2 separate regions of the Homo sapiens genome follow, and region 2 is linked to region 1. Evidence: promoter capture Hi-C in 16 types of primary human blood cells and fetal thymus (Javierre and others, 2016). All regions are on one chromosome and are shown on one strand. The core of a region is centred on a gene start or on the middle of the fragment in contact, and the rest is flanking DNA. Distances in the headings are between cores, read along the strand shown. Region 1 holds the start of TMEM132A (transmembrane protein 132A). Region 2 holds the start of FADS1 (fatty acid desaturase 1).

What was found. The method cuts DNA at HindIII sites, captures the fragments that hold promoters and counts their contacts. A CHiCAGO score of 5 or more calls a contact.
Region 2: a contact is called between the fragment with the promoter of FADS1 here and the fragment with the promoter of TMEM132A in region 1, in 1 of 17 cell types (neutrophils). The highest score is 5.2, in neutrophils.

What each region holds. Positions count from the first base shown.
Region 1 is chr11:60,922,935-60,926,378 of GRCh38, reverse strand. TMEM132A (transmembrane protein 132A) reads right to left here and starts at 1,919. Exons shown (of 11, transcript NM_178031.3): 1 at 1,646-1,919. The coding sequence starts at 1,745. TMEM109 (transmembrane protein 109) reads right to left here. Exons shown (of 4, transcript NM_024092.3): 4 at 2,936-3,444. It overlaps LOC124902676 (a long non-coding RNA gene), which reads left to right and starts at 982. Exons shown (of 2, transcript XR_007062688.1): 1 at 982-1,160. RefSeq lists silencers at 1,274-1,343, 1,384-1,603, 1,664-2,023. The HindIII fragment of the contact is 2,439 bases long and covers 1-2,116 here.
Region 2 is chr11:61,815,553-61,818,996 of GRCh38, reverse strand. FADS1 (fatty acid desaturase 1) reads left to right here and starts at 1,994. Exons shown (of 12, transcript NM_013402.7): 1 at 1,994-2,442. The coding sequence starts at 2,068. LOC124902680 (a long non-coding RNA gene) reads right to left here and starts at 977. Exons shown (of 2, transcript XR_007062696.1): 1 at 1-977. It also overlaps a transcript of FADS2 not described here. RefSeq lists silencers at 1,633-1,732, 2,073-2,272 and an enhancer at 2,793-3,444. The HindIII fragment of the contact is 2,548 bases long and covers 428-2,975 here.

The sequences.
Region 1 (3,444 bases), core at 670-3,169:
ATCCCATTTTGTGGATGTAGAAAATGAGGCCGAGAGGTTAAGGTATTTGCCTGTGGTTCCACAGCTGGAGAGTGAAGGAGCTGGGGGTTGATCCCAGGTATTAGCCACTAGACCATCCGGCGTCTCCACCTGCCACTTCTCTCTCCACTCTCCACTGCCACGGTGCACCCTGCAGGCTTCATGCCCTGGAGCGCACCTCCTCTCCTCTGCTCTGCCCGGTGGCACCTCCCTCCTCATTCAGGGCCATGAGTGAATACTGCCTCCTTCTGAAGGAAGCCCTCCTTGGTTACTCACCTTCCCACCAGTCTCCTGTCTTTTGCAACCCTGGGTGCCTCCTCTGAATTAGTAATCTTCCTATAAACAAGGGACCCTGTCTTGCTCATCCTGGAATTCCCCCAAACTAGGAAGCGCTCCCTAGAGAGGATTTCCTGGGAGCCTGGAGACCTGAATTTAAATTGATGAAACTTGGGTCAGGCATTAACATTTTGAAGCCTGTTTCCTCACTTGTAAAAGGGGCAGGAGCATTAGGTGGCACTGTGGACAGGACAGGGCTGTGTAAACTGTGGAGTGCTGTCTGGAGGGAGCAGGCATTATTGCTGCTGCATAATGGATTTGACAAGGTTTTCCTCCTCTCTCTATTAGGACTCCCATGGCGTCCCTCGGGATGGGGAGCAGGTGGCTGAAAGCAACCCCACAGCTAGCTCCCTCTCAGCCCCACAGCTGGACTGTGGGTGGGGGTGGGGGAATTGGTTTCAACCTCCTTCCTGGCCCTCCCCACCAAGGAGCATATGACTGACAGGCTCTCCCTGCCCCCTGCCCCAAGCGTAACAAGTGACCACTGCTCTCTGGGGGCAGCCACTGGCTTCAGGTTCGCCTCCTACTCCATTGCCTCCATAATTACAAGATGCTCTTAGCCTGACTCCCACGGACTCCCATCACCCAGCGCTCGGCTCTCTCGGTGGGGAGGGCAGAGAATGTTTCACTGTCCCTCTGTCTTCTGTGGCATCCTTTGCCTTGCAGCCACAGCCCAGCTAGCCCAGGCCAAGGGAGTCCGACCCCCACCCCGAAGCACAGGGAAGTTGCTGCCCTTTCCCGCAGTGACAGGAATCCTCTCAAAGGTTCTGGAAGGCAAGGATGCGGCCATCCCTGGAGACGCCAAGGTCAGGGAGCCCTGGGGGAAGGGGGAGGGAGGGCTTGCGTCTGTTGCAGGTCCCAGGCAAAGGGGCTGCTTTCCACTCCCGAGGGGGGTGGGTTGGTGGCGGCGGAAGGAGGCTAGGAGGGTGCAGCGCTACAGACCACAGTGAGGGAGTGGGGATGACGCTAGTGCGCCCGGGACCGGGGCCGCCGGGTTCGATGCCCGGGCTGAGGGGTCCCTCGCAGAAGGTGCGGGACGGGGAAGCCCCTGCGCCGGGCTGCCCCGGGTCAGGAAGGAGTTGCCGGGTCGTGCAAGGTGAAGGAAGCCTTAGGGGCGAGTGGCTGGGGGCAGGTTCCCGAGGGCAAGAACTCTCCGACCTTCAGGGCGCTGCGGGGCGACCCCGCTCAGGGTTCAGTCCGAGAACCCAAAGGTTGGTGGCTCCCGGGCATCACTCGCTCCCACTCGGCCGGGCCCGGCCGCCCCTCGCCCCGGCCCTCCCCTCCCGCTGACCTCTCACGACGTCCAGGGCGAGGGCCACCAGGAGGCAGAGCCAGGGGCCGTAGGGCCCCCGAGGGGCCGCTGTTGTGCGACCGGCCATCCGCGCGCACATCCTTCCCACAGAAGGCGGGGACGAGGCGGGCGGCTCAGGTGGCCCCAGTCCCGCACGGCATCTCCCGCACCCGCTCCGCGCCGTCCCCACCTGGCCCGCTGGGTCCCGGCCGCCGCCGCCGCCGCCGCCGCCCGCCCCGCGGCTGCAATTCCCAGACAATGGAGCGGGAGCAGTGGGGTGGGAGGGAGCGAATCGCAGCACATGGGCTGCCCCCTCCGCCCCGCCGGGTCCTAGTGCCCTACGGATCCCCAATCCCTGCGCGCTCAGGCGACCGAGGTCGGGAAGAGGGCCACGTCCCTGGAAGCAACAGAGGACGGCCGCCTCTGCCAGGAGGGACTCGGTGAGTTCTGTGTGGCTCCCTCACGGAAGCTTCTGATCAGGGAAGAAAAAGCCACTTTCTCTGCCTCACCCACCCCCACAAGCAGCTCACTTGTGAAGGCATCTGACACCTGAGTCAGAACCAGAATTCAGGGACACATGGGACGGGAGCTGCAGGGACAGGAAAGGAGGGAGGGGGTCAAACGGGGCCAGATGCCAACCACCTGAGCCTGCCCTGACAGAGCTAGGCCACCGCCGTGGAGGAAGGGCTCTAGGTGCAGGCAGCTCTAGTCTCTTGACCAGCTCCACCTGGGCAGCGTCCTGCAGCGCTTAGGAGGGTTGAGGGTTGCCCAACACTCCCGAGGGAAGGCCAGCCTCAAGGGTCCTGACCCAGTGTTGCCTACCAGGCAGTTTGGGGAGAGGCCCAGAGCAGGGGCCCCAGCTGCACACTCTCATGCCCTGGGCAGCTTACAAAGAAAAAATTATGTCTGAGGCCCTCCGCAAAATTGGTCCAGCCTGTGGGCCGACTGGAAACCTTGGCACAGGAAAGTCCTCAGGTGGGTGGTGAAGGGGAGGGCAGGCAAGTCTTCTCCAGGCTGCCCACCCACCTCAGCACACTGCAGGGAAGGGGTGACCCCTCTGCCCAGCAAGCACACGCATTTCCAGCAGTGCCAGTCGTTCCTACGTTTTGTAATGGGGGCATGCTTTCCTAATTCCTTGTGCTCCTGGAGGGAAGGGTACCTGGTACCAGCCTGCCTTTTCAGCTCTCCCCTCTGCCAGCTTCACACTGCCCCCACAGGGAGAAATTGGGAGGCGGAGCTGCACTACAGAAATGGGTTTAGCAGTAGAGGAGACATGGAAGCAATCCAGACTTGGAGTAAATACATTTTATTCAGAACAAGATAATAAAATAGCGTGCACTTTATTTAAAACCAACCAAGCACTGATAAAAAATATATATCACTGCAGCTGTGATTCCACATCAAACCTGAACAGTAAGAATTGGGCATTTATTCTTCACATCATGTGCCAAGCCTGGCAGAGAAGGACATCCACCTCCACTAGAGCCTCAAAGGAAAAGTGGCCCCTAACCACCAAGACAGGGTACCCTGGTGGAGAGGGGCAGCTGGCAGCTCACCCTGCTCTCTGCAGACCACGTGAAGGGAAAGGAGCTGCCTGTGTTCCTCCCGGGCTGCCGGGGTGGGCACTGGTCAGCAACTCCTTCTCGGTTTCAGGTTGTGGAGCGATGGGGAGAGAAGTGCATGCAGTTGTGCAGACAAGGAGGCGGGTCCTCCCTCCTCTTTCAGGGTCTCTGAAACCCCCACAGGGCATATAATGCCCAGCAAGGTCCCACTTGCAGGCACATGCCTACAAAGCAGCA
Region 2 (3,444 bases), core at 745-3,244, 890 kb before region 1:
TGGGAGGCTAAGGCAGGAGAATGCCATGAACCTGGGAGGTGGAGCTTGCAGCAAGCTGAGATCAGGCCACTGCACTCCAGCCTGGGCGACAGAGCGAGACTCCATCTCAAAAAAAAAAAAAATCTTAAATTTCTATATAAGTTGTCAAACTATTTTTTCCAGTTTAATCAACTTACACTTCTACCAGCAGTATGAGAGCTTTTATCCCACTGCACAGTCACATAGGAAAAATGGTTTATGTAAAGGACCTCTCTTCTGTTATTTAATACCCATGAATTTCTTATATAGTTGTAATCAGCGAACCCATACTACTTTGGGTTCTGCTTATTTCACGGGGAAGGATTCTATATCTATCAATATAGTTCACATTCTAGCCATTTAAAATCATTCTTTAATTCTTCATTGTGTTAACAGATCCCAATAAGCTTGGCGATTTTCTTATTGTCAGGACTCGGGTTTATTTCCAGTTTTTGCTATTAAATTGGCTATTTCTGCATCTTTGCACAGTCTCCCCTACTTTACCAAGAGTGAAACTGCTTGATCAAAGAATAGAAAATGTTTTGTAGCTCGCATTAGACACTGCCAAGTTGTTGGGCAAGGTTTTTAAAAAAGGAATATTGGCTGTACAGAGGTGCAGCTGTGTGGACCATCATTCCTGAGCAGGGTCCAATAGCCTGGCATCTTACCTGGAAGTCAGGACATCTAAACTTCCCTATGGGAACTTGGTAAGCCCCTTCCCCATTTCGAACCTCAATTTTCTTATCTATAAAATGAAGAATTTGGATGGAATGAATTAATCCTTTTCTACCAGAAATCTAGCCATATTTCACCTAGTCTATTCTGTATCACCCTCTCCTGACTCCTACGTGCTCAGAATCTAGCTCAGTGCTTGGGACAGTTATGTTTCCTTTCCCTTTGAAGTGCCCAAATACCAGTGTAATGAGAAATATGGCAGAGCCTGAGAGTTCAGAGCACAGGCCAGGGTCAAATCTCAGCCCTCCACTTACAAGCTGTGTGACAAAATAACCTCCCCCGGGCTCAGTTTCTTCACTGTAAATTAGGTTAATTGTTCCAACCTCATAGGGTTGTTAGGAGAATTAAATGAGTTAAGGTTTGCAAAACGCTAAGAACAGTGCCTGGCACACAGTAAGTGCTTTATAAAGTGTTTGTTGAATAAATAAAATTTTGGACCTAAACTCTGGGTCTCTTCAGGACTGCAACAGCTTTGTAACTGGCAACCCCACTTTTAGGTGCGTTCCCACTCCTCTAAAACCCAGAGATCTAAATGCCAAATCTCTCTGCTTAAAAAGTCTCCCAGGGCTCCTAGGCGCCTCCAGGCTAGAACAGAAATGCCTCAGCTTGAAGACCCAGGCTTTTCAGGTGAAACACCTAAGGGTCAGGAGACGCTAGGATCATCACTCAAGGATCCCAGTGAATTTTTCCAAAATACAATAAAAATAAAAACAAAAAGAGGCAAACAGGGTTATAAAAATTGTGGGGCATTTTAAATGTTTCATTGAACAAATTAAAGCATTAACAGCCCTCCCCCAACCACCACCAAGCCCAAGAGACCGTAAATATGCTGTTCACAAGATAACTGCAACTTTCAAGGGCTCTCAGGCTGCTACTTCGGGCAGCACAATTGGCGGCACGACGTGGCAAGCAGGCAGTAGTTTCCAACCCTGGAGGGTCAGCGTCTGGAGACCCCGGCCAAGGCATCCACAGCCTAAAGATGATGTCCGCGACCGCCCGGGCAGCCTCGTGCACGGAAAAACCTCAACCCCGGCCCCGCCCACCCTTCCTGCGGCCACCCCGCAGCCCTGGCCCCTCAGTCCATTCACTCCTGCAGCGCGGCCCCGCACCCAGGGCCTGCACTAGAACCGCTGTTCCTACCGCGGCGCCCCCTGGGAGCCAACGCCGCGATGCCCGCCTGACGTCAGGAAGTCGAATCCGGCGGCGACGCCTTTAGGGAGCCCGCGAGGGGGCGCGTGTTGGCAGCCCAGCTGTGAGTTGCCCAAGACCCACCGGGGGACGGGATCTCGCTCCCCGCGCCACGAGGCTCGGCCAATGGGAACGCGCGCTGCGAGGCCCGCCGGTCTGCCCTGCGGTGCTGAAAACCCGGCGCGCAGGCGGCTGGCTCTGGGCGCGCGCCAGCAAATCCACTCCTGGAGCCCGCGGACCCCGAGCACGCGCCTGACAGCCCCTGCTGGCCCGGCGCGCGGCGTCGCCAGGCCAGCTATGGCCCCCGACCCGGTGGCCGCCGAGACCGCGGCTCAGGGACCTACCCCGCGCTACTTCACCTGGGACGAGGTGGCCCAGCGCTCAGGGTGCGAGGAGCGGTGGCTAGTGATCGACCGTAAGGTGTACAACATCAGCGAGTTCACCCGCCGGCATCCAGGGGGCTCCCGGGTCATCAGCCACTACGCCGGGCAGGATGCCACGGTGAGCGCAGCCAGGCGGGGGCACAGGAGAGGGCGGGACCGGAGGCTGAGTGCAGGGGAGACAGAGTTACGCACTCCGAGCCAAACACCGACTAATTCGGAGGAAAGCCCGGAGGCGCCTGATCATACCTGTTGCCCGGTGATTGGGTGTCCTGCGGATGCGGGATGAAAAGGCGGGAGAGAGGCCTGGAGAAGTGGAGTCTGGGGAGTGGGGATGGAGGCCAACAACACGCACACACAAACAAAGGGTCCCGCCTCCCTGCCGTGCATTCCATCTGCAGCCCCGAGCCTCAGGTCTCTGGGCGGGGACAGAACCCCGAGCTGGGTAGGCTAGGAGGGAGGAGAGCAAGGATGCAGGCCGCCTGGGGAGGGAGGGGGTCAGTGGCCAGGGGAGGGAGTCACATCCTGTCTCGATGGCTAGGAGAGGCAGCGCAGCCGCGTCTGGACCTAGGTGCCGGTCTCCACTCGCCAGCAGGAGCGGAGAGGGAGCAGGAAAGGAGCCCATTCTCGAGGATGGGGCTGAAACGGGAAGCTTGGGGAGACCGCTGCCTTGGGGACCCCTGCGTCGTGTGAAGACTGGAGGACGCGGAAGGGACAGCGCTGGCCGGGGAGGGCAAGCGGCCGCTGGCGTACATAAGGGATTGGGAATGGCATACACTTAGCGAGGACCCCCAGAGCTGTTCTCGAATCGCCGGGGAGGCCACTGAGCCGCAGGCCAGCGAGGTCTTCAGCTATTCCGCGGAGCGGACCGCTGTTTACGCTCTGGGGCGGTAGGCCCTTCGCGGGGTCCTGTCCCTTCTTCCCTTGGTCTCACTGCGGGGTCGGCGCGCGCCCCAGCCCCAGGCCTGCTGCTTCCCTTTCTAGACCACAGCCCTCAGAGCTAAGGCCCCGGCGCCTCTCTGCTGGGTTGGAGTCCTGGGGACTCAGTCCTAGGGACTCGAAAGTCGGGGCGTTCCCTTCACCGCGTTTCCCCCTTGGCGGCCAGAATGGCGTCCCCTCCCCT